Regions from separate parts of the Homo sapiens genome. Here all the other regions are linked to region 1. The links are contacts of gene promoters, found by promoter capture Hi-C in blood cells and fetal thymus (Javierre and others, 2016). All regions are on one chromosome and are shown on one strand. Each heading gives the region's core, a stretch centred on a gene start or on the middle of the fragment in contact. The rest is flanking DNA. Distances are from core to core; before and after follow the strand shown.

Region 1 (4,409 bases), core at 1,209-3,708:
CTTGTATGAGTCACTTCTACTTGTGGCACGCTCCTTTCCCCTTCACAACCAGTTGGCTGGGCTCACCTCCTCCAGGAAGTCTTTCCTAAGCCTCAAAGCTTGACCTTTTGGGAGTTGGAAGATCTGAAGTGGTCCAAGGATTCCCTTAAGAATGAAAGCTGGGAGGAGAGGGCTTGCTTGGTTAGCCTGGGAGTACGAAACCAGAGTCTAGCTTCTTAAACAGGAAGATTTCTTTCCTTCCTTCCTTCTTTCCTTCCTTCCTTCTTCTTTTCTTTTGTTTTATTTTCTTCTTCTTCTTCTTCCTTCTTTCTTCCTCTCCTCCTCCTCCTTCTTCTTCTTGTTCTTCTTCTCCTCCTCCTCCTCTCTTTTCCTTCCTTCCTTCCTTTCCCTTTCTTTCTCTTTCTTTCTTTCTTTTTTCCTTTCCCTCCCTTCCATCCTTCCTTCCTTCCTCTCTCTCTCTCTTTCTTTCTTTCTTTCCTTCTTTTTCTTTCAAAATTTCGCTCTTTTTGCCCAGGCTGCAGTGCAATGGCGCAACCTCGGCTCACTGCAACCTCTGCCTCCCAGTTCAAGGGATTCTCCTGTCTCAGCCTCCCAAGTGGCTGGGACCACAGGCATGTGCCACCACGCCTGGCTAACTTTTTGTATTTTTAGTAGAGATGGGGTTTCACTATGTTGGCCAGGCTGGTCTCAAACTCCTGACCTCAGGTGATCCACCCACCTTGGCCTCCCAAAGTGCTGGGATTATGGGCTGAGCCACTGCACTCAGCCTATTATTAGTTTTTGAGATGGAGTCTCGCTCTGTTGACCAGGCTGGAGTGCAGTGGTGTGATCTTGGCTCACTGCAAACTCCACCTCTCAGGTTCAAGTGATTCTCCTGCCTCAGCCTCCCGAGTAGCTGGGATTATAGGCGTGAACCACCATGTCCAGAAGATTTTTGTGTTTTTAGTAGAGATGGCGTTTCGCCATGTTGGCCATGTTGATCTCAAACTCCTGACCTCAGGTCATCTGCTTGCCTCAGCTTCCCAAAGTGCTGGGATTATAGGTGTGAGCCACCGCACCTGGCCCCATGTGTATTATTCTTTTTACCCTCTCTGTTGTCTCTGTGTCATTAGGGGTATAACATTTAAAGCTAGAGGTGTCTATGTGCTCGTAATCAGTAAGGGAGAACTGAAGACCAGCCCTATGCCACATTTCAGGTTGTATGGCAGGGAACCCAGTGGGTAGGGGGCAGGGAATTAAGACAGGAGGGGAGTGAGCACAAGCCTGAAGGGCTTTAGCTGCTGGAAAGACCCAAGTTATCAGTCAGAAACATGTCTAGTTTGGAGTGAGCTAAGTTCCAGTGACTCATTGAGCCTGCAGGATCTGGAGGGGATCTTGAGTTCTAGTGGAGAGTTGAAGCTGCGCTGTGGGTACGCTGGCTGAGGGTGGAGGGACAGGGCCTGGACCCAGAGCCTGGGAGCAGCCTCAATTAAGATGAGCCAGAGGGATGGACAAGATGGCTTGGGAACTCAGAAAGAGGGTCATGGAGGAGGGCTATCGATCTCAGATGCCATGCAGAGGTGGAGAAGGATGCAGCACCTAGGAAGGCACTTGTGACCGTTCTAGAGCAGTGGTGTCAGGGTTCGTTGCCAAGCTGTAGAGGCTTAAATAAGCAGAGACCAGAAAGAGCAGAGGTGTCCTTTCAGGGAAGGAGGAAGATTTCATACCTGATGGTGGACAGAGGAGAGGGCCAGGTAAGGAGGGCAAGGTACAGGGCCTGTGATGGAGGCAGGTCACCGCAGGGGTGGGTGGGCTCTGAGCACCTGTGGAGAGGTCCACCCTGGACAGGAGGGAATGCAGCCTCCTCCAGGACAGGAAGCACATTGTCTGGTGAGCTGAGTGTGTTAGAGCAGAGAGGGCAAGGAGAAGGGCACTCCCTCCATGACCTCCTGAGACCTCAGCACACTGAGTCTCTCCTCTCTGGTGCAGTCCCCACTTCCCTCCTCACTCTCTTGGGAGCGAGGCCTCTTACCATTGTTCTGGCGTGAGGAAAGGCCTGCTGTTGCCTCACCAAGCCCACTCGTGAACCCGCTGATGCCGAGCCCGCCTGCCTGAGTCTTGATCGCTGACTTGAGCTCGTGATTCTCCCGAATGAGCCGCACCAACTTCTTCAGTTCCTCATTTTCCCGCACCAGCCTCTCTATCTGATGCCGAAGCCCTTCATAATTGGTGAGTAGAGACATGCCCTGGGGCAGTGGCAAGGGTGCGGCCCACGGGAGGGCACTGCACCTGGAGGCTGCCCAGGGCCCCAGGCCTTGCCTGGGCTGAAGGAGGGTGCAGAGTCTGCAAGGCTGGCCCAGTGGGCCCTGGGTATTGTGAGGTCAGAGGCTGTGCCCTCTTCCTTGCCCTCTCTGCTCTAACACCCTCAGCTCTCCATGCCACCAGGCCTGTACACAGGCCTTGCCTCGGCCTGGAATGTCCTGACCTTTTCTCTGTCTCGCCAACTTCACCCTCATGGTGCCTCTTCCGTGAAACTTCCTCTCCCCCACCGCAAGTTAATTGCTGCCCGCTGGGTTTCCCCAGCAGATGTGTCCTGTGTCATAGCACTTCCCCTGGTTCCAGTTCCGTGCTAGCTCCTTAACATTGTCCACTGGCTTTACAGTGAGGTCAGGGATTGTAACACGTTCCTGGAAACCCCAGTGTCCAGCACAGGGCTTGGCACAATGTTTGTAGGTAAACAGTAAATATTTGTTGAATGAAAACCCACCACTCCACCTTCCTGGCCAGGATGCCCCTTCTTGGTGATCTTGAACATGCCTGGGTTTGGCCTCTCAGCCTTCTCCTGGTTGCTGTGTCTTGAAGGCCTGGACACTCGCCCATGATTTCTTCTGACCCAGGTGCTCAGAGTCTCTATCTTACTGCTGGTCCAGGAGCTCTCTATAACTTGGAGTTTCCATTTCTGGTGACTCAGCGTTCCCTATTCCAAATCTCCCGTCGTTGCCTTCTCCGCACTTGGATCTCTATTCCCCAGCTCCTTGAATTTTCCTGACTTTAGTCCTTCAGGAGCCCAAGACTGCATCCCTCACCTGGTTCTAAGAACTCAGGACTCAGTCCTCATGATGCTCCCCTTCTCTTAGAGCTATCTACAGATAACTCTATGGTACTGACCTTGAGTACTGAGTGAGGCCGTGTCCTCGTGGCCTCCATTGGCTCTGTGGCTGTTCTCCCTCAAACCTCTTTTTGGGGCAGGGAGAGGATAGCGAAGTCCAGGTACAGGCCAGAGGACAGACTCCTGGTAGAATGTGGGAATGAGGAAGGGGAAGAAGGTCAGCCAGGGCTGGGATCGCTGTGAGTTGAGCATTCTGCCTGGACCTCACAATGGGGGGCCTACCCCCACCCCTCCTCTAATGCTTCAGACTGTAATCCTGGCTCAGTCACTCTGGCCCCAGGGACCAGAGCCCCCAAGAACCAGAGTTGAGGTCTCTTCAGTCACCCCTCTAACTTTATAGAGTGTCTCTGTTGGGCTTTCCTTCAACATGTGAAAATTAGCTTGTCATGGTCTTATTTCACTGTTAGCCTCTTGGGTTGATGCAGTCAGTGATGGTTACATTTTATGTGTCAATTTTGTGAGGCTATAGTGTCCAGGTGTTTGGTCAAAATCTAGCCTAGATAGTGCTGTGAAGCTATTATATACTTGTAGCTATTAATCACGTCTATTAGACGTCTAATAGACGTGATTAATAGCTACAAGATGTTGACTTTAAAGGAGATTACCTTCAGTTATTTGGGTGGGCCTCATCCATTCAGTTGAACAACTTTTTAAAAATTTATTTTTTTAATTTTTAAATTTGTTTATTTATTTATTTATTTTTTTGAGGCAAGGTCTCAGTCTGTTGCCCAGGCTGCAATGCAGTGTCACCATCATAGTTCACTGCTGCCTCGACCTCCCATGCTCAAGCGATCCTGCTGCCTCAGCCTCCCAAGTAGCTGAGACTACAGGTGTGTGCCACCACACTCGGCTAATTTTTATTAAAAACATTTTTTTTTGTAGACATGGGGTCTTACCACATTGCCCAGGCAGGCCTCAAACTCTTGGGCTCAAGCAATCCTTCTGCCTCAGCCTCCCAAAGTGCTGGGATTACAGGTGTGAGCTACTGTGCCTGGCAGAAGAACTTAAGAGTGAAAAAAACCTGAAGTTTTCTGGAAAATAAGGAATTCTGCCTGAAGATTGTAGCATAGAATTCCTACCTGAGTTGCCAGCCTGCCTTACAGATTTTGGACTTGCCAGCCTCCACAATTATGTGACCAAGCCCTTAAAATAAATCTCCTAATATAAAAGAACTCCGGCTGATGCACCATCTCTGTTTCTCTTTGCATATGCCAGTGTTCTTTCATCCGAAAACATATGTTGGCCACCAACTGTGGCAGGC
Region 2 (4,098 bases), core at 1,599-4,098, 400 kb before region 1:
TGGTCTTATACTCCCAACCTCAGGTGATCCGCCCGCCTTGGCCTCCCAAAGTACTGGGATTAGAGGTATGAGCCACTGTGCCCGGCCTGTATTTTTTTTATTTATTTTAAAATTTTTTGTTATTACTATTTTTGAGACAGAGTCTAGCTCTGTCGCCTAGGCTAGAGTGCAATGGCGTGATCTCAGCTCACTGTAACCTCTGCCTCCGGGGTTCAAGCAATTCTCCCGCCTCAGACTTCTGAGCAGCTGGGACCCCGCCACCATGCCTGGCTAATTTTTGTATTTTTTAGTAGAGATGGGGTTTCACCATGTTGGCTAGGCTGGTCTCGAAGTCCTGACCTTAGGTGATCTGCCCGCCTCGGCCTCCCAAAACCCTTTTACTTTCTGTCTCCATGAATTTGACTGGCTGGGGTCCTCACATCAGTCAGATCACACCGTCCTTGCCCTTTTGCGTCTGGCTGCTTTCGTTCATCACAGTCTCCTCCAGGTGCATCCAAGTCACGGTGCAGGCCGGTTTCCTTCCTTTTTCTGGCTGAATCGTGTTCCACTGTGGATGAACCACGATGTGTTCACTCATGCGCGTTTGGATACTTGAGTTGCTTCCATCTTTTGAATAGTGCTGCCATTGAACGTGGGCTTTTTTTTGTTGTTGTTTTTTTCTTTTTAGAGTCAGGGTCTTGCCAGGTTGCCCGGGCTGGAGTGCGTGATGCGATCGTGGCTCACTGCAGCCTCCACCTCCTGGGCTCAAGCAATTCTGCCTCAGCCTCCCGAGTCGCTGGGACTACAGGCACCCACCACCACTCAGGGTGCCTTAATTTGTTTTTGTGTTTTTAGTGGAGCTCGGGTTTCACCATGTTGCCCAGGCTGGTCTTAAACTCCTGACTTTAAGTGATCCCCCCGCCCCGGCCTCCCACAGCGCTGGGATTACAGGTGTGAGCCAGCGTGACCAGCCGGTGTTGTTTTTAAGATGGGCCAGTTGCAGTGAGCTTGTTGGATGACAGAGTGGGCCTGAGGGGCAGGAGAGTGCAACCCGTCTGCTCTGGGGAAGCCGGCCTTAGGCTGGGGCATGGGCAGGTGAAACCCTCAACAGCTGCTCCTGGGCTACGGAAGAGAGTTTCTGCTGGGAGGGGTGGGGTCACATGAATGGAGGGAATGGAGGAGGCCTGTAGCCCAGCACTGAGGCCTACTGGGGAGGCAGCTCAGGAAGGCCACAGAGTCAGGCCCAGGCCAAGACCTTTGCCCAGAAGCTAAAGTAGGCCCTTGAGCCTATTTTAGCATGGGTGGCCTCCAGCCAGCCCATTGGTCCTGGGGTGGTGTGGGAGGGAAAGGGCCAGTTTGGGTCCGCAGCATCTTCAGGCTGTGTGTAGAGCAGCCCCCTCATGGTCCTGGGACCCAGAAATCATCTGCACCCCCAGCAGGCTCTGCACCCCCGGCAGGATCTGCACCCCCGGCAGGCTCCCCTAAGGGCCCCCAGAAGGATACCACTGCGGGTGGGCCCAGCCAGAGGAGCACCATGAGATCCGCTTGGTGGGGTGAGGCCGGCAGGGGAAGCACCCTGACCCCAGGACACTGGGCTCAATGCCCGCCCTGCCCCGTCCCACCCTGTGTATGGCGGGACAGAGTCCTTGGGCCTCAGGCACCCAGCTCCCCACCCCAGCCCCACCCACAATGCTCAGGGTCAGGCTGGCTGGACCGGGCGGGAGGTGGCATCTGGACTCCCCCTTCAGAAGGCAAAGCTGCCCTGAGATCTGCCTTCCCCTTCCCCCAGACTTCCTGCCATCACCACCACGGTAGAGATAAGGCCTCTAGGCTCAAAGGCCAGAGAGGGAGCCCACAGAGAGGGCAGGGCTGGGAGCCACAGCCTCCCTGCCCCCGGGGCTAGAGCTGGGGTCTTGCCCCAATCTTATCCTGACCCAAGCTCGGCCAGGTGGCTGCCAGGGCCCAGCTCCGTCTTCCTGTTTGTCTGTGTTGGAGCTTCCTGGGGCTGTCTCCGGCCTAAGGGAGCATGATGCAGCAGGCACCTTTTCAGTTTCTTTGACTCCATCGCAGTCCCCAACAGGGACCACAGCCCAGGACCCAGGAGGAGGGAGGTCCATGTCCCCACCCCCAACAGGGGCCACCGAGGGTGTCTGGGCAGCCTCTGTTGGGAGGGGCAGAGGCAGGGACCTGGGAGCTCTCAGGCTCTGGGGGCATCTGTGCACCTCTGCCCTGTGTCCCCCAGCTTGGAGGCAGCCCCCAGATGGACAGCCAGAAGGGGACACCCCAGCCCTGCCCCACAGCTTGGGGGGCAGCAGGCAGAGGACAGAAGCCCACCCAGGCTGGCCTGGCGTGGTGAGCCACGCCGGTAATCCCAGCACTTTGGGAGGCCAAGGCGGGCGAATCACCTGAGGTTGGGAGTTCAAGACCAGCCTGACCAACATGGAGAAACACTGTCTCTACTAAAAATACAAAAGTAACCGGGCGTGGTGGCGCTGCCTGTAATCCCAGCTACTCGGGAGGCTGAGGCAGGAGAAGCACTTGAACCCGGGAGGCGGAGGTTGCCGTGAGCCAAGATCACGCCATTGCACTCCAGCCTGGGCAGCAAGAGCAAAACTCCAACTCGAAAAAAAAAAGACCACCGAGGCTGCCTGTCCAGGGGAAGGGGCCCAGCCCTCGACCCCCACAGGCAGTGGCTCCAGGCTGTTGGGGAGGATCTGCCACTGGAATGGTTAACCCAGGCATCTCCAGCAGCCAATCACAGAGCTCTGCAGGAATACCTGGGAGAGGTCCTCATGCAGCCCGGGCGGGTCCTAGCCCAGCCCCAGTCTGGCCCTGGACAACCCCAGCAAAGCCGCCCTCAGCCAGCCCAGAAGCACTGGGCCTTGGCCACAGCAACACCCACTGAGCACGCTGGGAGCTGAGTATGGCGTCCCTGGTCTCGCTGGAGCTGGGGCTGCTTCTGGCTGTGCTGGTGGTGACGGCGACGGCGTCCCCGCCTGCTGGTCTGCTGAGCCTGCTCACCTCTGGCCAGGGCGCTCTGGATCAAGAGGCTCTGGGCGGCCTGTTAAATACGCTGGCGGACCGTGTGCACTGCGCCAACGGGCCGTGTGGAAAGGTAACAGCCCCACCCGACGGGTCCCCCAGCCCTGGCCTCTTCCCGCCAGCTCCGCCCTGCCAGCCGGCAGCAAAGGGCCCTGGGCAAACTCCAGGAGGCGGAGGAGGCTAGTGGCAGTACCTGGGCACCCTGACCCTCCCCACAGGCCAGAGCCCACCCTCCTGCTCATGAGGGCAGACAGGCCTTTCCAGGGACACAGTCCCTCTTCTCCCCAGGACCCCAGGGCCAACTCCCCCTGCCGGCCCTCTGCCATCAAATTGGCAGTGGCTCCAGGGGAGTCCCCTGGGGATGGGGGACCACTGTTGGGGACCCCTCTGCGTGCACCCCTGTAGTTGGGGAAGCAGGACAGGGGCCTGGGGAGACGGAAGGGCGCCAGGGGTTGAGAGAGGATGGTGGACGTTGTTGGACTTGAAAGGGAAACAGGCCCTCGGGGAAGCCCCTGGCCAGGCCTGCCTCTCCCCTCCCTGGTGGGCCCAGCGCCCCTGCTCACTTGTCTCTGCCCACAGTGCCTGTCTGTGGAGGACGCCCTGGGCCTGGGCGAGCCTGAGGGGTCAGGGCTGCCCCCGGGCCCGGTCCTGGAGGCCAGGTACGTCGCCCGCCTCAGTGCCGCCGCCGTCCTGTACCTCAGCAACCCCGAGGGCACCTGTGAGGACGCTCGGGCTGGCCTCTGGGCCTCTCATGCAGACCACCTCCTGGCCCTGCTCGAGAGCCCCAAGGCCCTGACCCCGGGCCTGAGCTGGCTGCTGCAGAGGATGCAGGCCCGGGCTGCCGGCCAGACCCCCAAGATGGTGAGGGAGAGTCCAGGCAGACCAGGGGAGTGGGTGAGGAGGGTCCCACGGCCCATGGGACCCGGCCTGGCTGCAAAGCCTTCGGGGAGCCTGGGGGCCTGGGGAGACGCCCAGGAGTCGGCCTGCGGCTGGGGATTCACAACGTGGGGCTCACTACTGGGCAGTTGGGAGCCTGTAGGAGCCCCGGGAGGGACCTCATGAGGGAGGAACCCAGAG
Region 3 (4,409 bases), core at 1,291-3,790, 370 kb before region 1:
CCCGCCTCAGCCTCCCGAGGAGCTGGGACTACAGGTGCCCACCACATGCCCAGCTAATTTTTCTATCTTTAGTAGAGATGGGGTTTCTCCACGTTGGTCAGGCTGGTCTCGAACTCCTGACCTCGTGATCCGCCCTCCTCGGCCTCCCAAAGCATTTTCACATTGCATTTCACATTGCCTCACAGAGCATTTTCAACATTGCTGTATGTTTGAAGTTTTTCACAAAATGTTGGAGGCCGGGTGTGGTGGCTCACACCTATAATCCCAGCACTTTGGGAGGCCAAGGCGGGCGGATCCCCTGAGGTCAGGAGTTCAAGACCAGTCTGACCAACACAGAGAAACCCGCCTCTACTAAAAAATACAAAATTAGCTGGGTGTGGTGGCGTGTGCCTGTAATCCCCAGCTACTAAGGAGGCTGAGGCAGGAGAATCGCTTGAATCCAGGAGGTGGAGGTTGCAGTGAGCGGAGATCCCACCATTGCACTCCAGCCTGGGCAACAAGAGTGAAACTCTGTCTCAAAAAAAAAAAAAAGTATCAATGAGTGCTAAACTGCTGGGTGGAGGCCAGGCGCAGTGGCTCATGCCTATAATCCCAGCACTTTGGGAGGCTGAGACAGATGGATCACTTAAGGTCAGGAATTCAAGACCAGCTTGGCCAACATGGAGAAACCCCATCTCTACTAAAAATTAAAAAAAAATTAGCTGGGTGTGGTGGCAGGTGTCTGTAATCCCAGCTACTGGGGAGACTGGGGCTGGGAGAATTGCTTGAACCCAGGAGGCAGAGGCTGAAGTGAGCCAAGATGTTGCCACTGTACTCCAGCCTGAGTGACAGAGCAAGACTGTCTCAATAAATAAATAAAGAAACAAACAAACTGCTGGGTGGAGGAGCAGTGAGAACAGACACATCATCTCAACTGCCTCCATACGGCTAATTACAAGGGAATCAAATGGGGGAAACCGAAATCATGTGCCCCCGGCAGGACAGAAGCAGTGTCACTCCTGTGTGATTCCTGCCAAAACAGATGACGAATATGACCACAAGCAAACATCAGACAAACCCACACTGACAAAATAAGAAGCAGTGAAATATTTCTGTAAAAGATGAGATGGTAATTATTTTAGGCACTCTGGCCACGCATGAGCACATGGGCAACTGTGCACCAAGTGGTCACAGGCAATGCATGGGCATGGCTGTGTTCCAATAAAGCTTTATTTGCAAATCAGACAGCTGCCACACTAGGCCCCTGCACTTGGCCCAGGGACCACAGTTTGCTGACTCTTGTTATACAATACTTACAAGCCTGTAATCTTCAAAGGTGTCCAATCATGTGCAATGAAGAATTAACTTTACCCAAACAGAGGACTGACCTTTGTCCCTTCTTAAGTCCTTGGGATTTCCTGAGTGATAAGGAGTGCCTCTGTTTTCCATGGTGGCCCTGAGGGCTTATGCTAAGAAGGGACTCAGGGCGAAGACCCACCACTTTGGGGCCCACGGGGATGGGAGCGGGAGGACCGGGGCTGGAAACTGAATTCCTGGGATTTTCTGAGAAACTGGAGATTTTCAATCAATCCCGCCCAAGTATTAATACCCCAACAAAAACTCCAGGCATGGCCTGCGTGGTGGCTCATGCCTGTAATCCCAGCACTTTGGGAGTCCGAGGCGGGCAGATCACTTGAGGTCAGCAGTTCAAGACCAGCCTGGCCAACATGATGAAACCCTATTGCTACTGAAAATACAAAAATTAGCCGGGCGTGATGGTGGGCACCTGTAATTCCAGCTACTCAGAAGGCTAAGACAGGAGAATCGCTTGAACCCGGGAGATGGAGGTTGCAGTGAGCCGAGATCCCACCATTGCACTCCAGCCTGGGCAGCAAGAGCGAAACTCCATCTCAAAAAATAAAAAAAAATAAGTTAAATAAAAAATTAAAAAATTTTAAAAAAAAAGTTAAATTTAGTTCAGGTATGATAGCTCACACCTGTAATCCCAGCCATTTGGGAGGCTGAGGCAAACGGATCACCTGAACTCAGGAGTTCAAGACCAGCCTGGGCATCATGGCAAAACCCCATCTCTACTAAAAATATAAAAAATTAGCCGGGCATGGTGGCGCGCACACCTGTAGTCCCAGCTACTCGGGAGGCCGAAGCATGAGAATTGCTTGAACCTGGGATATGGAGGTTGCAGTGAGCTGAGACGAAGCCACTGCACTCCAGCCTGGGCAACAGAGTGAGACTGTCTCCAAAAAATAAAAGAAAAAGGGGCGGTGGGGGAAAGCAAAACACATAGGTGATTTTTTTTTTTTTTGAGACAGAGAGTCGCTCTGTCACCCAGGCTAGAGTGCAGTGGCGTGATCTTGGCTCACTGCAAGCTCCGCCTCCCGGGTTCACGCCATTCTCCTGCCTCAGCCTCCCAAGTAGCTGGGACTACAGGCAACCGCCACCAAGCCCGGCTAATTTTTTGTATTTTTTAGTAGAGACGGGGTTTCACCATGTTAGCCAGGATGGTCTCGATCTCCTGACCTCGTGATCCACCCACCTCGGCCTCCCAAAGTTCTGGGATTACAGGCGTGAGCCACCATGCCCGGCCACATATAGGTGATTTTATTTTTTATTTTTATTTTTTGAGACGGGTCTGGCTCTGTCTTCCAGGCTGGAGTGCAATGGCGTGATCTTGGTTCACTGCAACCTCCGCCTCCCAGGTTCAAGTGATTCCCCTGCCTCAGCCTCTCAAAGTAGCTGGGATTACAGGCGTGAGCCACCGCGCCTGGTGGTGATTTAAGTTTAGGGCCAGGTGTGGTGGCTCACACCTGTAATCCCAGCACTTTGAGAGGCCGAGCTGAGCAGTTCACCTGAGGTCAAGAGTTGGAGACCAGCCTGTCCAACATGACGAAACCCTGTCTCTACTAAAAATACAAAAACTAGCCGGGCGTGGTGCCACACACCCGAAATCCCAGCTGCTTGGGAGGCGAGACAGGAGAGTCGCTTAAACCAAGGGAGCACAGGTTGCAGTGAGCTGAGATCGCACCACTGCACTCCACCCTGGGTGACAGAGCAAGACTCCGTCTCAAAAAAAAAAAAAAAAGAAAATGTAAGGAGTGGCAGAGATTAAAGACAGGGCTCTGAGGCAGAGAAACATTGTCCCAAACCTTCCACCTTCCTGGGCAGCCCCTGATCATTTGGGTACCTGTGGCCTGTTCTGACCTCTGCTGCCTTTTCTCATGGTGCACTGGCACCGCCATGCTCCTCACCCGCGCTCCTTCCTGGGCCCCTGCATGGGTGCTGCTGTCACCCAGGATGTGTTCCCAGGCTACCCTGTGCCCTGCCAGGGAAGCTCCACAGGCCTGCTTGTCTATGCAACCGTGACGGCTTAGAGCCAAGGAGAACGTGCAGACTGCTGGGAAAATTAACAACAGAGGTCCCTCCCTGCAACCCCAGCTCAGCCCCTGAGAGCGAGCTGTGAGAAGATGTTTTCCCACAAAGTGAGCCCAAAACGCAGGCTCACCAAGCCGGTGGCCGAGGAGGTGGACACCAGACACAGCTGCATGCCATGAAATAGAGGGTGAGACAAACCCAGGCCTGCCAAGCCGACATTTCAGAACCAGGCTGCAGGGGACGGTGGCTGGCAGCCCTGTGTGGCCCTTGCATGCACTGCAGCGGAGGGTCACGAGAAAAAGGCAGAGGACCCGAGGCTCTGTCGTCACCCACCCCAGGCTGCGAGACTGGATGGCCCTGCAAGACAGACAATGCCACCCAAAATCTGCAGGCAGGGACAGCAGGAACTCCAAGCAAAACCAGATGCCAGGGAGACCCACGTGGGGAACGACTGTTTTGTCTTTTAGGCTGAAAATCCTCAGGTGCCCAGCTATCCACAAGCTTCCACTCACTGCTGGAGGAAATTTCTGTGAAACTTCTGGTGAAATCTCTGAAGGCACCAGAAGCCGAGGCACTTGCTGAGAAACTGACCTAGGCCTGGCAGATGCTCGGAGGCAGGCAGAACAGGACCACACCCTCCCTGCCTCCTTCCTGCCCTGACGCTCCATTCAAAAGGGCTTTGGGGGCTGGGCACGGTGACTCACGCCTGTCATCCCAGCACTTTGGGAGGCCGAGGCGGGTGGATCACGAGGTCAGGAGATCGAGACCATCCTGGCTAACACAGTGAAACCCCGTTTCTACTAAAAATACTAAATAAATAAATAAATAAATAAATAATTTAGCCAGGCATGGTGGTGGGCACCTGTAGTCCCGGCTACTCAGGAGGCTGAGGCAGGAGAATGGCGTGAACCAGGGAGGCGGGGCTTGAGTGAGCCGAGATTGCGCCACTGCACTCCAGCCTGGGTGACAGAGCGAGACTCTGTCTCAAAAAAAAAAAAAAAAAAAAAAAAGGGCTTTGGGCTAACAGGTTTCTCTCAAAG
Region 4 (4,409 bases), core at 1,394-3,893, 310 kb before region 1:
TGGCCTCCCTGAGGCCTGGGATGAGCTCGACCCCCCAGTTCCTCCCAGCCACAGACACAAGTTTCCCTCTGAATGAGCAGCACAGGCCATAGACCACCACTGGCTGTGAACTCTCCTGGGACCCTTGCTTCTCACAGGCCTTCTTGGCCCACCCATGGCCCCTAGGCCCTGGGATCAGCCTGAGGCCCCAACCCACTTCCAGCCCTTTATTCCACTAGCCCTGGAAGGCAACTCGCTTCGGGCTTGGGCCCCCTCATTTGTTGCTGCCCCCAGCAGGGTGATCTGCATCATGCTTTCCTCGATGACCCAGCCATACACACCCTTGTCCCCAACCAACCTCACCTACCCTGACCATTCCCCTCACCCTAGATCCCAGGGTATAGGGCCTGTCTGGGCAGGGCTTCACCCACCTCTGGAGCTGCTGCCCCGCCACGCCCCCACCCCCGGTGGCAAAGCCCTTCCTTAATGGCCCGCCCACAGCCAGTGCTTTCCCCATTGGCTCCAAGCCTGGCTCTGCTCACCAGGCCCGACCCATCCTCCCTGGTGGTCCAGTCCACCCTCCCATTGTCTTTCTCCTGTGGCCACTTGCCGGCTTTGAGTTGGGACGCGACCACAGGTTGAGTCGTTGATCTCCTCTGCCTAGCATGAGGTGCTCCGTGGCCAGGTCCAGACCTCTCTGAGCTTGCTGTCAGTCCATACTCAGACAGGTCTGGGCCTACCTGGCCACAGAGTGTGTCTGCCAGCGACTGCATTCAACAAATGAATATTCTGAGAGACTGGGTAGGAGATGGGGCTGGTCCTGACCGACCAAGGCCCATGTGTGAGGGGCTCTTGGGTCCAGTGAGGGCGGCCCCACTCGGCAGGCTACACAAAGGGCATCTGCCAGGTAGCTCCAGCCTGCCTGATACCTGGTTGGCAGCAACCCACAGCGGCCTGTGGTGACAAGAATATGTCACCAGGGGGGCAACCAAGGGGGCAGCCCTGCTGGCCACTGTTGGTGGAGGTGGTGGAAGAGGACGGAGCTCAGAGGCGAGGCTGTGACCAGCCCACGGGAGAGGACCCCACCTCAGGAGGAGCACCTGTTTGCTTCCAGAGAAGTGCTGCTTGCCCCTGCTCACCCCAGAGGAATGAAGGTGTTTCTAGAGTCAGAGTCCTCAGTGAACCCTGGCATCCTGAGATCCAGGATGTTCTCACTCCATGCCCTGTGCAATATGCACACCAAGCCAAGGTGGGCCGCAACTGTGGCTGTTACAGTTGATTAGTTGCTTCATTTAACATACAAGATGTCTGGGGCAGTGGCTCATACCTGTAATCCCAGCACCTTCAGAGGCCGAGGTGGGAGGATTGCGTGAGGCCAGGAGTTCGAGACCAGCCTGGGCAGAATAGCGAGACCCCCATCTTTAGAAAAAATAACAACAGGCCAGGCGCGGTGGCTTGCGCCTATAATCCCAGCACTTTGGGAGGCCGAGGTGGGCGGATCACGAGGTCAGGAGATCGAGACCAGCCTGGCCAATATGGTGAAAGCCCGTCTCTACTAAAAACAGAAAAATTAGCTGGGCGTGGTGGCACGCGCCTGTAGTCCTGGCTACTCGGGAGGCTGAGGCAGGAGAATCGCTTGAACCCAGGAGGTGGAGGTTGCAGTGAGACGAGATCGCGCTACTGCACTCCAGCCTGGCGACAGAGTGAGACTGTCTCAAAAAAAGAAAAAAGAAAACAAAAAACAACAGGGCGGTTGCACAGGCCGTGCAAATGCACAGAAGCCTCTTGAGTCCCGGCGATCCAGCGGCCCAGACTTCTGACATCCTGGAGAGGCTGGCCCACGTTGGAAACTGGGAGGCCCTGAGAGTTGAGGGACGTGGAGCTCCTTGTGGAGAGAGTGGGTGGGCTGAGAAGACACCACCAAGGGGCCTGCGCCCTCGCCCTCGCCCTCGCCCTCCTCTCGCCGGGCTCTGCAGGCGGGGAGGTGGAGAGCCTGGGAGTCGCGTGCAAGGCAGGCGTCCCGGTGACGCAGGGCCTGGTGCATTTCTCCAGCTTGGTCTTCTGACCTGGCCCTTGTCTGACGTCCCCCTAAGGCGAAGAAAAGCAGGTTCCTGCCGGGGTAACCAGAGGGCTCGCGGAGCAGAAGCGCGCCAGGGACGTTACTGTAAGCTGCGTGCGCAGAAACCAACGCGCTGGGTGGCGGGCGACGCGAGCCGCCGCGGACACCGGCCCGGACAGCTGGACCGTGGCGCACTAGGCGCTTCCTAAATGATTGCCCGGAGTGACTCGCCGAGACCCCGTGTGTACACAAGTGGGACGAGGGGCGGGCGCACAGCGGCCAGGAAGTCGGGGCCCAGCGCACCCCTCAGCGGACCATCCCGCTCCGTGGGGCCGGACAGGACCCCGGGACCACGCGGGAGCGATGCAAGGTCCGTTCCCGCTGCGCGCACTTGCGGCCCGCAGCCCCGGCCCTGGGAGCTGCCACGGCTCCCAGGGTGCTCTGCGCCGGTGCGGCCGCGGCGACTACGACTCCCAGGGTGCTCTGCGCCGGCGCGCCCGCGGCGACTACGACTCCCAGGGTGCCCTGCGCCCCGTCAGCCTCTCCAGGCCCCGCCTCAGGTCGGCCGCGGACTACAAATGGACGAGAGAGGCGGCCGTCCATTAGTTAGCGGCTCCGGAGCAACGCAGCCGTTGTCCTTGAGGCCGACGGGCCCGACGCGGGCGGGTTGAACGCGCTGGTGAGGCGGTCACCCGGGCTACGGCGGCCGGCAGGGGGCAGTGGCGGCCGTTGTCTAGGGCCCGGAGGTGGGGCCGCGCGCCTCGGGCGCTACGAACCCGGCGGGCCCACGCTTGGCTGCGGCCGGGTGCGGGCTGAGGCCATGGGCGACCGCGGCAGCTCCCGGCGCCGGAGGACAGGGTCGCGGCCCTCGAGCCACGGCGGCGGCGGGCCTGCGGCGGCGGAAGAGGAGGTGCGGGACGCCGCTGCGGGCCCCGACGTGGGAGCCGCGGGGGACGCGCCAGCCCCGGCCCCCAACAAGGACGGAGACGCCGGCGTGGGCAGCGGCCACTGGGAGCTGAGGTAGCGGAGCGCCTGACCCCCTAACCTCTGACCCAAGGGCCCCGCGACTTTCCGGGGTTGGCCGAAGCGCGAGCTCCGAGTCCGAGAACATGGGCCCTGGGCTAAGCGGGGATCGGTGTGCCCTATGGGCCCTGTGGGGAAACTGAGGCTTGGGGAGAGTCACCTGACAAGGTCACTGGGTAGGGGCTCTGGAGCTGGCCTTGGCCAGGCAGAGGGGAGCCGGCAGGTGTCCCGCATCCAGATCCTCTTGGGTCTGTGCATCCTCAGGGGCTCCTGAGGAGCTTTTCGAGGGGCGGGCTGGTGGGGGCCCGGCCCTGGACAGTGTCCCCTTATATGGAAGGAGTCAGATAAGATCTGGGCAGTTTGTGGTGATAGGTTCCTTCTTGGTGCTATGAGCGGTGCCTTGCGGGTAGGAAAGGCTCCCAGAGGAGGGCTGGCCTGCCAGGGAGGGGGCCAGAGGAGCCCAGGCCTGTCCGAGGACAGGGGAATCAGCAGCTGCCCCGGACAAGGGGCAGTGTTAGAGGCGTTCTTGTCCTTGCAGACCCTTCTGAGAGTGGCTGCGTGGCCCATTCATTGCTCCAGTGGTTAGGCTGGCCTGGAGCCCTGCCGATGTTGCCAGAGCCAGCGTCTGTTGTAGGGACAGAGAGTTGGGTTCTGTGTTGGGACTTCCATCCTCCAGGTGGGGAGTGGGGTATGGGGGTGGTGGACACACCTGCAGGCGTGTGCCCTGCTCAGCTGGATGACTGACAGAGAGGGGTGGAGGGAGAGAACCATGGCCGATGGGAAGGACTTGGCCAGCCTGGGCATTGGCTTCCTCCACCAAGCTGGCCTTGAGCAATCCCCTTGCCACCCTCCATCCCCCCTTTATGGCCTTTACCCTGGCCCAGGGGCCCTCAGGGCTTTGTTTTAGAGAGCAGCTGAGGGCCTAGAGGTTATCAAGGCAGAAGTGGGCTGATTTTGGACATGTAGTTGGCAATGATTTGCTCTCTCAGTGAGCAAGAACAGAGCTTTCCTTCACGGGGCACCATGGGGAGGGGGTTGGGGGAGGGCAGGCACTGTCGTGGCCCTCAGGGTGCTCAGTTCATCTGGGAGATAAGATAACCTCAGCGAGAGTCAGGCATGGAGCAACATGGACAAAGGTCGGGCACGGAGGCCTTGAAGGGGCCGTGGGGAGGAGGGTGGCCCTCCTGAGAGGGGTGCTTGCCTGCTGTGGGCCTGGGGTGCTGGTGAGGGAGGCTGGCCTAGGCACCTCCTACCTGAAAAGGAGGTGTGGCTCCTGGAGTTACCCTCTCTCCAGGAGGCAGGGGGATGGCTACATGACCTGTGGAGGACGTGGGAATTGAGATTTCTT
Region 5 (4,409 bases), core at 1,901-4,400, 280 kb before region 1:
GGTCGGCTCTGCTTCTGCAACTCCTCGTGTGCTTATGAGTGGACGCCCTGCCCTGCCTTACTTCAGGGACCCCTCAGGCCCTGCCCCCTGCCTCACTGCAGGGACCACTCTGCTCCCAATTGTCCACCCAGAGACCCTCCACAGCGGCCACCTGACCACTGGCTTTCAATGGAACTCTCTCCCGCGATAGGCCGAGGGCCTTGGTGACCTCCAGCTCACTCAGTCTCAGGGAGCCCCAGGGTTTCAGCACATCCTTCTAGAGTCTTTCCAGCTGCACCCATGAGGCTGGGGCCAGGTGAAGACAGAGAAGCATCCAGGAGCCCACATCTAAGGAGGCCCCCACTCCCAGCGCCATCCGAATGCAGGTAGGTCTTAAAAAGGAATGCCTCAGGGCCAGGCGCGGTGGCTCAAGCCTGTAATCCCAGCACTTCGGGAGGCTGAGATGGGAGGATGGCTTGAGCCCGTGAGTTCCAGACTAGCTTGGGCAATACGGCGAGACCCTGTCTCTACTAAAACCTTAAAAAGAAAAAAAAAAAAAAGCCAGGTCTGGTGGTGCAAGCCTGTAGTCCCAGTGACTCAGCTGAGGTGACTGGATCACTTGAGCCTGGGAGGCAGAGGCTGCAGCGAGCTGCAATCATAGCCCTGCACTCCAGCCTGGGCAACAGAGCGAGACCTTATCTAAAAAACAAAAAGTGCTTCCTTAAATTTTGCACCCAGGTGCCCCCTCTGGCCTCACCCTGATCCTGAGGCCTCCGTCTACCTGGGTTCGTTCTAACCTGCGTGACCATCATTCTAGCATTTGTCTGGCACAGGTCATGTGGCTGTGCCTTGTTCTCAGGCTCCTCAGCCAGCTGGGTGGCTCCTGGGGCTGTAATCTCACCATCTCAGATGTCGAGATTACTTTTCATACTTCCTTATCTTGTTAATAAAGATGGGACAAAATCATAGCTTGTAAAAAACTGGGATGATGGTGAACCCAGTTCTGAGGCTTCACTTTCTGCTTTTGTTTGGTTCTCCATGCTGTCAAATTCTCTGAAGAGGCTGTTGCCCTCCTGAGTCAGCTGCAGCCCAGCAAGGCCCTAGAAGAGCCTCTGCTGGTGGACAGAGGAGCTGCTGCATGCAGACGAGGAAGCTGGGCTGAGGGCCGGCACCAGGGCACGGGGCAGGGAGGCTGCGGGTCCCGGGTCTCATGGGTCTCAGTTCTATGGAGGTGCCTGTCAGTCCAGGTATTCAGTCCCCCAACCCCGTCTTTGGGTCTCAGTGGTACTGGATCCAGGTGTACCTTTGGGAGAAGCTGTTGAGAAGCTGGCTGAGGGAGGACCACCCACGTGCACGCCCATGCTCTTATGTGGATCCCCGGGATCATAACCTTGTGGCTGACACATTTCCTCTCCAAGGCTGTGCTGTCCTCCACGACTTGCTGGGTCCCCTCAAGGCCCTTGCCTGTGTGGGTGGGGTGCTCATGGGAATGAGGGTCTTGGGAGGGGGGGGTGGGAAATCAAACAACACAGGGATGGGGTAGCTGCCACAGTCCCCACCAATGGGGTCTCCTGGGCAGTGACCCGGCATTCTGCCTCCAGTGGCTGCAGTGGGAGTCCTGATCTCAGGCCAGGGAGGGGACGTGCAATGGTGGTCCAGACCTGGTCCCATTCCTGGCCAGGCTCAGTAAAGTTACTGGCCAGTTTCTGGGCCTCGGTCTCCCCCAGGTTATTCAGCCTTGAGAGTTAGTCACCATGCCTGTGATTCTGCCTCATCTTCTTGTGTCAAATAGGGAGGGTTTTTCTTGGCAGAATGGTGGTAAGACTCTGAGCCAGAAGGAGACTCTCCCAGAGAAGGCAGCAGAGAGCAAGAGCACCAGGGCCTTCTCAAGGCCTCCGAGAGCCAGCTGGGCCTGGGCAGTAGATTTGTGGGAGGGTGCCCTGTTGGGACTCTGCTGACAGGGAGTCCTCAGGGCTTGTGTGAGTGCTCTCAAAGTCACAGGATGGGATGATCACCTCCTTTCTCCAGGCCAGGCAGCCAGCGCCGGAAAGCTCTGCAGCCCCCTGCGCGGCCTGGAGAAGGGCTTCCTTCCAGTTTTAAGTCAGTGTTTCTGTCTCATTGCCATGCTCGCCCCCAGTGCTACGTCCTGCACCAACCATTGCCACTTCATACTGACCAGGTGGAACCAAACACTCACATTCCAGTTGGCTCCCCATCCCTCCCCAGGGAGAACAGATCCACAGGTGGTGCACCTGTGAGTGGAGTGGAGGCTGGCCACGGGCCTCATCACACCTGCCTTCCTTGCTCAAAAGCCCTGCCCAGAACATGCCTCGGTCCCAAAAAAGGGTACACTGGGCCCTAACCCACATGCCTCATAATCTTTAAGCAGAAACAGCAAGCAGATTACGGGACAGGACAGATCACGCTAGTAGGATTAAGCTTAGAATATCCCAGATAATCGCGGATGCCCCTCCCCCAATGGGGGAGTTATTCCCCTTAACTTCTGAGGATTAAGGGGAATAAGAAAAAGAAGAAGGGCTGGGTGCAGTGGCTCACACCAGTAATCCCAGCACTTTGGGAGGCCAAGGCGGGTGGATAACTTGAGGTCAGGAGTTCCAGACCAGCCTGTCCAATGTGGTGAAACCCCGTCTCTACTAAAAATACAACAATCAGCCGGGTGTGGCAGCACGCACCTGTAGTCCTGGCTACTCGGGAGGCTGAGGCAGAATTGCTTGAACCCGGGAGGTGGAGGTCGCAGTGAGCCGAGATCGCACCACTGCACTCCAACCTGGGTGACAGAGCAAGACTCGGTCTAAAAAAAAAAAAAAGAAAAAAGAAAAAGACGGATAAAAGAAGACAGAAACATGGGAGTATTTCCTTTGCACAAGAATCCAAGGTCTAGAATGAAGAGATGGTGAAATGAAGCCAGCCTCCAGGAAGGTGCACTGTGCCTTAATGGGACCTGGGGATGGGAAGGCCAACACAGAGGTGTCAGCGGGACAAACACAAAGTGTTTCTAACAAGAGCAAAGATTTCCAGTCTTCTCTTTATTTCCAAACACTCTGTAGGTAAAGCAGAGCCTCAGTAAACCCAAGAAGCAGAAAACCTGGCCTCCTGCCTGGGGCAGCTTCAGTTTAGACTTTTCTTCATTCCTAACAGCATAAAGAGGCTGTGCAAATGGGAGGCACTCAGCAGAGCCTGAAGAACTCTGGGGTCTTAGCTCCTGGGAGGCCACACATGCTTGGTGGCACCCTGCCGGTCACGGTGCCTCCAAAAGCTCCCAATGATCAGTGGCCTTTCTTTTTTTTCTTTTTTTTCTTAGACAGGGTCTCACTCTTTGCCAGGCTGCAGTGGCGGGATCTTGGTTCAGTGCAACCTCTGCCTCCCAGGTCCAGGGAGTCCTCCTATCTCAGCCTCCCAAGTAGCTAAGACCACAGGCAAGCACCACCACGCCCGGCAAATTTTTTGTATTTTTAGTAGAGCTGGGGTTTTGCCATATTGTCCGGGCTGGTCTCGAACTCCTGGCCTCAAGTGATCCACCCGCCTCCGCCTCCCAAAGTGCTGGGATTACAAGCAAGAGTCACCCCACTCGGCCAGTGTGGCCCTTCTTCAGGTCATCACTTGCCAGCCGCAGGCGGTGGCTCTGCCCCTCACCGGACACGACGTCACAGCCGGGATGTGAACAGCAGATTCTGATCTCCAACTCCAGACAATCACTGATTTACTTCTGCAAACCGGAGCTGTCCGGTCTTGCAGGGTCGGACCATGTAAACAAGCCTGCTGCCAGGCAACTGAAGACAGAAACACGAATAAAGATGCCCCATAAGGAATGAAAAACAAAACTCCTCTTGGGAAACCCAGATTTGGGATTCGGAAACGGGCTTGAGATCAACCTGAAGCTTCATGACGTCTTACTGTTTCCACTGCCTTTCCTGTTCCACTACAGCAACGCCCTCCACTTCACGTGCCAAGTCCTGACTTTCTCCTAATAGTTGCCGACCCAGCACCCCGTAGGCTGTCCCCTGGGGACGCCGATGTCCTCTGGGGCATAGCGTCCGCTGGCGAAGCCGGGTGCTTGCCCTAAGCGCGGACACTTCCGCAACCGCCCAACAGTTAGCAGAAGCCCAATACAAGAGACGCCCCATTCTCCCCATCCCAGGGAAACTTCGCTGGGGCAGGGGTTGAACCGAGTGTGGGTCTCGTAGCCGCTTTCCCAACTTAAGGCTCTGGGTCTGAGCAGGCTCGGGACCCGCCGCCCTTCTCTGGCGGGGGCAGGGCAGGCTCACCGCGCGTAAGCTGAAGTGCGGCAGGGCCCCTCCCCGCAGCCCTCCCGCGCCGTCCGCCGCGGCCCTGCTCCCTCCCGGTCCCCACGGGCCCCGCGCCCGCGCGCTGCCCTCACCGGGCTCCAGCAGATGAGCGCGTCGGTGTCC

Evidence for each region. Contacts are between HindIII fragments. The CHiCAGO score rates a contact against its expected background, and 5 or more counts as called.
Region 2: a contact is called between the fragment with the promoter of SLC39A4 here and the fragment with the promoter of SPATC1 in region 1, in 3 of 17 cell types (erythroblasts, naive CD4 T cells and endothelial precursors). The highest score is 9.1, in erythroblasts.
Region 3: a contact is called between a fragment that was not itself captured here and the fragment with the promoter of SPATC1 in region 1, in 2 of 17 cell types (endothelial precursors and erythroblasts). The highest score is 5.9, in endothelial precursors.
Region 4: a contact is called between the fragment with the promoter of DGAT1 here and the fragment with the promoter of SPATC1 in region 1, in 2 of 17 cell types (endothelial precursors and erythroblasts). The highest score is 6.3, in endothelial precursors.
Region 5: a fragment that was not itself captured here is called in contact with the fragment with the promoter of SPATC1 in region 1 in 7 of 17 cell types (M0 macrophages, M1 macrophages, M2 macrophages and 4 more); the score reaches 11.8 in M0 macrophages.

The regions. Positions count from the first base shown.
Region 1 is chr8:144,010,329-144,014,737 of GRCh38, reverse strand. It overlaps SPATC1 (spermatogenesis and centriole associated 1), which reads right to left and starts at 2,458. Exons shown (of 5, transcript NM_198572.3): 1 at 2,012-2,458. The coding sequence starts at 2,222. It also overlaps a transcript of PARP10 not described here. RefSeq lists an enhancer at 2,407-2,626. The HindIII fragment of the contact is 8,382 bases long and covers 101-4,409 here.
Region 2 is chr8:144,415,594-144,419,691 of GRCh38, reverse strand. SLC39A4 (solute carrier family 39 member 4) reads left to right here and starts at 2,848. Exons shown (of 12, transcript NM_130849.4): 1 at 2,848-3,094; 2 at 3,601-3,882. The coding sequence starts at 2,903. It overlaps LOC124902041 (a long non-coding RNA gene), which reads right to left. Exons shown (of 2, transcript XR_007061145.1): 2 at 79-4,098. The HindIII fragment of the contact is 10,558 bases long and covers 1-4,098 here.
Region 3 is chr8:144,383,857-144,388,265 of GRCh38, reverse strand. All of the region lies in intron 3 of ADCK5 (aarF domain containing kinase 5), which reads right to left. Among named protein-coding and RNA genes, the nearest start is that of MIR939, 8.2 kb to the left of the region's middle. The HindIII fragment of the contact is 2,664 bases long and covers 1,209-3,872 here.
Region 4 is chr8:144,325,086-144,329,494 of GRCh38, reverse strand. DGAT1 (diacylglycerol O-acyltransferase 1) reads left to right here and starts at 2,643. Exons shown (of 17, transcript NM_012079.6): 1 at 2,643-3,058. The coding sequence starts at 2,859. RefSeq lists silencers at 2,217-2,936, 2,947-3,016. The HindIII fragment of the contact is 39,409 bases long and covers 1-4,409 here.
Region 5 is chr8:144,291,844-144,296,252 of GRCh38, reverse strand. HSF1 (heat shock transcription factor 1) reads right to left here. Exons shown (of 13, transcript NM_005526.4): 1 at 4,379-4,409. Among named protein-coding and RNA genes, the nearest start is that of HSF1, 2.4 kb to the right of the region's middle. RefSeq lists enhancers at 3,852-3,911, 3,514-4,170 and a silencer at 4,302-4,409. The HindIII fragment of the contact is 1,460 bases long and covers 2,421-3,880 here.